Regions from separate parts of the Homo sapiens genome. Here region 2 is linked to region 1. Evidence: promoter capture Hi-C in 16 types of primary human blood cells and fetal thymus (Javierre and others, 2016). All regions are on one chromosome and are shown on one strand. The core of a region is centred on a gene start or on the middle of the fragment in contact, and the rest is flanking DNA. Distances in the headings are between cores, read along the strand shown. Region 1 holds the start of FAM222A (family with sequence similarity 222 member A). Region 2 holds the start of PWP1 (PWP1 homolog, endonuclein).

Region 1 (3,598 bases), core at 371-2,870:
CACCTTCAGCCTGGGGAGGGAAGGGGAGGAGATGGGGGCGGCCGCGGAGAAATAGAGCGGAGCTGCTGGGAACAGCGCGCCGAGCAGCCGCTTAGAGGCCTGAAACAGGGCCAGCTCCTGTCCTAGATAAGGCGGCGGGTGACCCACTTGGGCCGGCCCTGGAGGTCCGCCGCGGGCGCCTCTCCCGGCGGGGTGGGTTGGCTCCTGGAAGTAGGCTAGGGCCCGTCTATAATCAGCCCGTCCGCTGGATACGCTCCCCAGGGTCTCCAAAGCCCTCCAGCCCGGGTGAGTACAGAGGGCATTTATTGAGCACTTAATGTGTGTTTTGAGTCCTTTACATGCAAGAATTCATTTTGCCCTCAAATCTACGCTGTAAGGTAGGAATTATGATGCCCCCCATTTCACAGACAAGAAACTGAGGCGCAGACCCGTGAAGGTAAATGGCCAAGACCAACAACCAGCAAGGGCAGGGCTGCAATCCCACCCAGTTTCGGTGGGACTCCAGGTATCACACGGGCATAGCCTGAGGGGTGGGGGGTCTGACTGCTGCTCTGCATTTCTGTGGGGATCTTTGTTATTATCCCGGAAAGCTGGCTTCCTACAGTGCTGTGTGATGGACACACAGCAACTGAGGGAACTGCCCCACCCAGGACTCAATTTCCCCATCTGTAAATGAGACTGCTAGACGGGCCGCCCATGGGCTGTGAGAACCCAGGAAGCTTCTTTAAAAGTAAAAGGGAAAGCACAGTATAGTTTGATAGATTCATATTTGAACCCCAGGTTGATGTGAAACTATGCCTCAGTTTCCCTATCTATTAAGTGGGGGAGTAGGCTAGTGCCTGTCTCCTGTGGGCGTGGGGTACGTCTAGAAGGTGTAGCTTGCAAATTGCTCAGCGCTGTGCTGGGTTATATAGTTAGCGCTCCACAGATCACAACTGTGATGCCAAAAACACATCGCTGCCAAAAATAAGCCTTAGGACAAAAACATCCAGGACCATGTCACTTCACATCTCCTTACCTCAGTTTCCTCTGTAAGTTGGAAGTATAATAATAGTACCTACCGTATCAGTTTTCTCATCTGTAAAATGGGGGTGATAGTAATACCCACTCACACGGTGTTGTGAGGATTAGATAAAATACTTTGCTACATAAGTGTTAGCTATAGTTGTTATTTTTAACAAATTCCTCATGAGGTTGGTTTTTGCCAAGATTAAATGAAATAATGCCGATAATGCACTTATACAGTGCCTTGTCCCAAATATGTGATCAGTAAATGACACTGGTTTTGCCACCCCTAGTGGGACTACAAAAACCAGCACGCCCTGCGCCCCCAGTCGGGGCCCCTCCACCCGGCGCCGGCGCGCAGCATGCCGGGAGTTGCAGTCCTCGCGAGGCAAGTTCCGCCTCGTCCCTGCTTGGGGGAGGAGGTTGGAGAGCCGCCCTGCCGGCCTTTGAATTTTGCCGCGAAAAGCGCGCGTGGCGGCCCCCGGCTCCGCCCCTCGCAGGACGCGGTGCCGCGTCACCCTGGTAACCGCCTCTCAGCCGCCGCTGATTGGGCTGGGCCGCGGGGGGCGGGCGGGGGACGAGACGCGGGGGCTGCTGCCGGCGCTCGCGCCTGTCAGTCGGGCCAGAGCGGAGCAGCGGGCAGGACTGCCTGGCCGGCTGCTCCGCGGAGAGGCTGCGCGCGCCGGCCGGGGGAGGCGGACAGCCGGGCCCGGCGCCTGTGGGGCGCGGCGCGCGGCACCCGGGCCTGAGACCAGGCGAGGCGCCGGCGCGCGCCAGACGGCGCGAGGCTGCGGCCCCGGGAGCCCCCGCGCGCCGCCCGGGGCCATGGGCGCGTGAGAGCCCAGCGCGCGCGGCCCCTGCTGCGGCTTGCGAGCTCGCACACCCGGTGCACAGTCCCCCGGGCCGTCCTCGTGTCCGTCCTGCGCCACTGGGATCGGCTGTTTCTCAGCGCCGAGGCCCCCGAGGCTGCATCCGAGCTTGCGTCGCCCGCTGCCGCCGCCGCCGCCGCTGCCGCCGCCGCTGTTCGCCGGCTTCCCCTCCCCCCACACCCGGGGCTCAGAGCAGGAGGAGGAGGGGCCGGTGCATTCTCGCCGCTGTTCTTTGCAACCTGCAGGGGCCGGTGTATGTCCGGCGAGGAGCCGGGGCCGCTGCGGGTGCGTGCAACCCCCGAAGGAGACAATCCCTCCACCTCGGGGCGAACCCGGGGGCTGCAAGCCGCGGGCGGGCGGGCGAGCGAGAGGAAGCAACAAAGACAGGCTGCAGCTGGGGCTGGCGAAAGGGGCCGCGGCCGCCGGGCTCCCAGCGCGGGCGGAGAGGGCGCCCTGGGAGCGGCGCGGGCCGAGCTGCAGCCTTGAGCGGGGCCCCGAGGGGAGGCGCAGCGCCGCCCGCCGGACGTGGCGATCACGGGCCCCGGCGAAGATGCGTCGCCTGAGCGCCCGCGCGGCCCCCGTCCGGGGCGGGCGTGACCCCTGCTGAACGGAGACCTCCCCTCCCCCCCGACTTCGGACGGCGCAGGCCGGCGCCAGGATAGCCCTCACCGACAGCGCCCCTTCCCACCCGGAGAGAGGCATCGACCCCCAAGGAGGGCTTCGTCAGGCAGCCTCTGCCACTCCTGCATGGCTGCGACCCGTCGAGCGGAGCGTCGTGGTAGCTGAGACCTGGTGCCCTTCGACGGCCTGGCTGATCCGGTGAGTTGTGCGGGGCGGGGTTCTGCGCTGGAGCTGGGGGCACCCCCTGGCGTCCGGGCAGCCAGGATTGGACAGAAGGGGTCCTAGGCTGTTGGGGGTCCTGAAGCAGAGATAACCCTTGTCCGCCCCTTTCCTCCCTCCAAACACAACTTGTTCAGATGGGCCAGCCGATGGGAGTGGAGGTTGGGGGGCCCATTCGGATTCCGCGGGACCCTGGGCGGGTTGGTTGCCAGAGAGGAAAGGTCACCCCACCCGTAAAGCTAACAAAGGTATTGGCTGTGTCATCCGAAAATTCCCCGGGAACTCCAGTGTCTTGGAAGGGCTGGGGGGTGGGGGGCACCCAGGATGGGAAAACGTTGAGGGTCTCCCGAGCAGCCTCTGAGATCTTCAAGGGAAATCACCTCAGAGGGGGATTTGGGGTTCCAGAAACGCAGGTGGCCACGTTTGAGAATTGTGCCCCATGGGGCTAGACCTTAGAGCCCTCGTTCAAACCACGTTCCCACAAATAACTCGCAGGGACGGTAGGTTCCCCAGTGGGGGCACGACATGACGTCAAACCTTAGCCTCTGATGTCACTGGGGTTGCCGTGGCAACACCACTTGCCTTGACCCAAGGCCGGAGGGGGCGGGGTCGTGGTAACAAGGGGCGGGGCTGGATGCCTTTGGGTAGTGGAGGGGTGAAGGCGGACTCCCCCCACCCCTACCATTGCAGTCCTCTGACCTAAATCCTTAGCGCCCCATAAGGTGGGGGAGGGAGGCAGTGCCAGCTGTCCCTGTTGATGCTCCTCCCCGCAAGGACAGGTGTTCAGAGCTTTGCCCATGTAGCCTGGCCTGTGCCTCGGGGCTCAGGCCTCCCAGACAGAGCAACTTTCTGTTTTGAAAAGAGATGCTATAGAAGAGACCTCC
Region 2 (3,542 bases), core at 1,043-3,542, 2.0 Mb before region 1:
CCCATGTGTTATAGGAGGGACCCAGTGAGAGGTAATTGAATCATACGGGCGGCGTTTTCCTGTGCTTTTCTCATGATAATAAGTCTCATGAGATCTGATGGTTTTATTAATTAATTAATTTATTTTTATTTATTTTTATTTTTTGAGACAGAGTCTTGATCTGTTGCCCGGGCTGGAGTGCAGCAGTGCGATTTCGGCTTACTGCAACCTCCGCCTCCTGGGTTCAGGTGATTCTCCTGCCTCAGCCTCCCAAGTAGCTGAGACTACAGGTATGCACCACCATGCCCGGCTAAGTTTTATATTTTTAGTAGAGACGGGGTTTCACTACGTTGGCCAGGCTTGTCTAGAACTCCTGACCTTGTAATCCAACTGCCTCGGCCTCCCAAAGTGCTGGGATTACAGGCATGAGCCACTGCACCCAGCTGAGATCTGATAGTTTTATAAAGGGGAGTTCCCCTGCACATGCTCTCTTCTTGCCTGCTGCCATGTAAGACATGCCTTTCTTCTCTTTTGCCTTCTGCAGTGATTGTGAGGCTTCCCCAGCCAACTGAAACTGTGAGTCCATTAAACCTCTTTTTCTTTATAAATTATCATGTCTTGGGTATGTCTTTATTAGCAGTGTGAGAACAGACTACCACAGTAGCCAAACTTTATATGGTGGCTCAGGGCTCCAAACATTAGTGTTCTACTGGTGGGCAGTGGGGGAGTGGGTGGGGGGTGTGGAAGTGGAGAAGTGGGTGTGGTGGTGGGGAAGCAAAACCTGCATCCTATTTATGACTTAACCTTGGAAACATCATTTCTGTCATACTTTATTGGCCAAAGCAGACCTACAACTACCCAGATTCAAGTTGGTGGGGGCGGGGGGGGGTGCTTTGATGGAGGAATATCAAGATCACGTTGCAGACAAACATGTGTGAAGGACTCTATTGTTGCAGCCATCCTTGAAAAATATTATCTGCCATATGGTCTTTCTAAAATGGGTTAAAAGCAAAGAAACCACAGAAGAATCATCTTACAGAAACAGAGCAGGGGGAGAAGTCTTAATGGACAAATAATCTGCCTACACAAACAATGAGCAATTTACTTCTGGGAGGATCTCTCCTCAGGCAGGGAGATTGCCAAGCGCATTAGGCTGAGTAGAGTTGGTGACAGAACTCATAGTTGTATCAGCTCCTCTGTGTGTGATCTGAGTAGGAAAGTATTTGACTACTGGGGACTCTAGCTTCATCTTTAAAACAAAGTGTTGTGAGAACCAAGTAAAATACTGTATAGAAAGATAAATGTGTTGCAAAAAGGTCCCCGAATAGAGCCCACAGGTGGACACCCCCCGTTTGACAATGCCACTGGGAAAGACCATGTGTACTGCCAGTTTATCCTTGCCACTGTTTCCCCATAGCAGCCACCTTCCTGTTTCTTTTGCTTGCCTCTCTCAGAGGTAGATGCATTGAGGGTAAATGACCAGGACAGGGCCACACAGCCAAGAGATCAAAACCCAGATTTTTCTGGGATGCTAGTTTGAGATTTTCCATTCTACAAACGTCCAGCCACTCACGAGTTCTAACAGATGACTGATCTTAGCTGAGAAGCATGACATAGATACAAGGGAGTCACACTGCCCGGGTTCATATCCCAGCTGCACCGCTTACTAGCAGTGTGACCTTTGGAAGGATCGCTGTTTTCCCAGGTGTAAAACGGAAATAAGACCTCCCACAAAGGGGTAAGTAATCACGTGATACGGCACTCAAAACAGCGCCTTCAACATAAGTAAGCCCTTTGTGTTTGCCAAGACTAAATCACTACTGCATAGTTAGTATATAATTGGTGCTAAATGTTTTTTTCTCACTTTTTTTTTTGGTGCTAAATGTTTTAAGGTGAGAAAGTAACATTTAGGGATGTAATGAGATGTAATGGTGGGATCTCCGTGAAACGACAAATTCATTTTGGAGAAAGCTTTTTAAAAAACGCAAACCACAAACCTCTGCCATTTGTCAGCTTGAAGTCTACGGAACTGCAAGCAAAATAAAGATTGGTGAAACTTTGCTTCTGACTGACCCCTACAGTCCCAAATATTTTCTTGGCCTTTACAAAGCCCGCAGGCATCGTCACATGCAGTCCTGAAAAGCCTTTTCTCTATACTTCACACAGCCCAGACCAGCCCACGTGGATTCCTCGCCCGGCTGCTTCCGCTTCCATTTTGTCCCCTCCTATTTCTCATTCGGCGCCTCAGAATGACGTCTGAAATGAGCGCCGACGCTGCCCAAACAGGAGCCTGCGCATGCGCTCTGCCCTGGCAGCGGCCCTGTGCAGATCCCTGAGCGTGTGGCAGCAGTGCGGTCGTGGTCCCTCCCTATGCAGCCTGGTTTCTAGCGTGACACGCCCTTGACTTGAGGACCATGAACCGCAGCCGCCAGGTGACGTGCGTGGCCTGGGTCCGCTGCGGCGTGGCCAAAGAGACACCAGACAAGGTGAGGCCTGGTCGCTGGGAGACAAGGGGAGCAGCGTCTTTACGGCACTGGGGGTCCGCCCAGCTGGGGGAACGTGGACCCGGAACTCGGGGCGTTGGCTGGTGCGACTGGCTGGGGTGAGGGCGGCTTTGCCCGGATTGTCGCGACTAGAGCTGCAGTTCAGAAGGTCTGGTTCGCCTGAGCCTGGAGAGTCAAGGGCCGCGCCTTCTCACTGTTCCCACCCTCAAGCCCAACCCCACTCCCAAATTCGCACGCACATGGACTTAGCGGGCCGGAAAGGGGTGGGCTGCTGTTTTTGGTGGGTAATACCCCAAAAGGCTTTTTGACAACACCACTAGCTTCACTAGCACCCAAGTGCATTTTCAAGCATAACTGGGAAGAGAGCATGAAAACTCCACTTTCCACTCTTGTGCTCCGTGTCTGAAGGAGTGAGGATGAATGTGGTGTAGAAAAACTGGTGTGGAGGCTAAGATGTCGTGAGGCTGGGAGATGAATAGGGAATTTCTTGCAGTAATCCAAGTGAGATGTTGATGGTAGCAGGGAGGATGAGAGGTAAATGTCTAACACATGAAAAACCTACAAGAGTTGGAGACTGAGACTGTAGCAGAGGTGACGATTACTTAAGTAATTTCCTCATTGGATACTAAGTGCTTTCTGTAGGCCAGGCATTGTTCAGGGTCCTGGGATAGGCATGAACAAAATAGAAAAAGTCCCGCCGGGCGCGGTGGCTCACGCCTGTAATCCCAGCACTTTGGGAGGCCAAGGCGGGCGGATCACGAGGTCAGGAGATCGAGAGCATCCTGGCTAACACGGTGAAACCCCGTCTCTACTAAAAATACAAAAAATTAGCCGGGTGTGGTGGTGGATGCCTGTAGTCCCAGCTACTCGGGAGGCTGAGGCAGGAGAATGGCGTGAACCCGGGAGGCGGAGCTTGCAGTGAGCCGAGATCGCACAGCTGCACTCCAGCCTGGGCGGGCAACAGAGTGAGACTCCGTCTCAAAAAAAAAAAAAAAAAAAAAAAAAAAAAAATAGAAAAAGACCCTGCCTTTATGGAGTCGACATGTGCACATATAGTAT

What was found. Contacts are between HindIII fragments. The CHiCAGO score rates a contact against its expected background, and 5 or more counts as called.
Region 2: a contact is called between the fragment with the promoter of PWP1 here and the fragment with the promoter of FAM222A in region 1, in 1 of 17 cell types (naive CD4 T cells). The highest score is 6.1, in naive CD4 T cells.

The regions. Positions count from the first base shown.
Region 1 is chr12:109,712,205-109,715,802 of GRCh38, forward strand. FAM222A (family with sequence similarity 222 member A) reads left to right here and starts at 1,621. Exons shown (of 3, transcript NM_032829.3): 1 at 1,621-2,693. RefSeq lists an enhancer at 83-646 and silencers at 1,352-1,681, 1,712-1,761. The HindIII fragment of the contact is 3,633 bases long and covers 718-3,598 here.
Region 2 is chr12:107,683,507-107,687,048 of GRCh38, forward strand. It overlaps PWP1 (PWP1 homolog, endonuclein), which reads left to right and starts at 2,293. Exons shown (of 15, transcript NM_007062.3): 1 at 2,293-2,465. The coding sequence starts at 2,394. RefSeq lists enhancers at 2,102-2,361, 2,582-2,631. The HindIII fragment of the contact is 3,419 bases long and covers 1,949-3,542 here.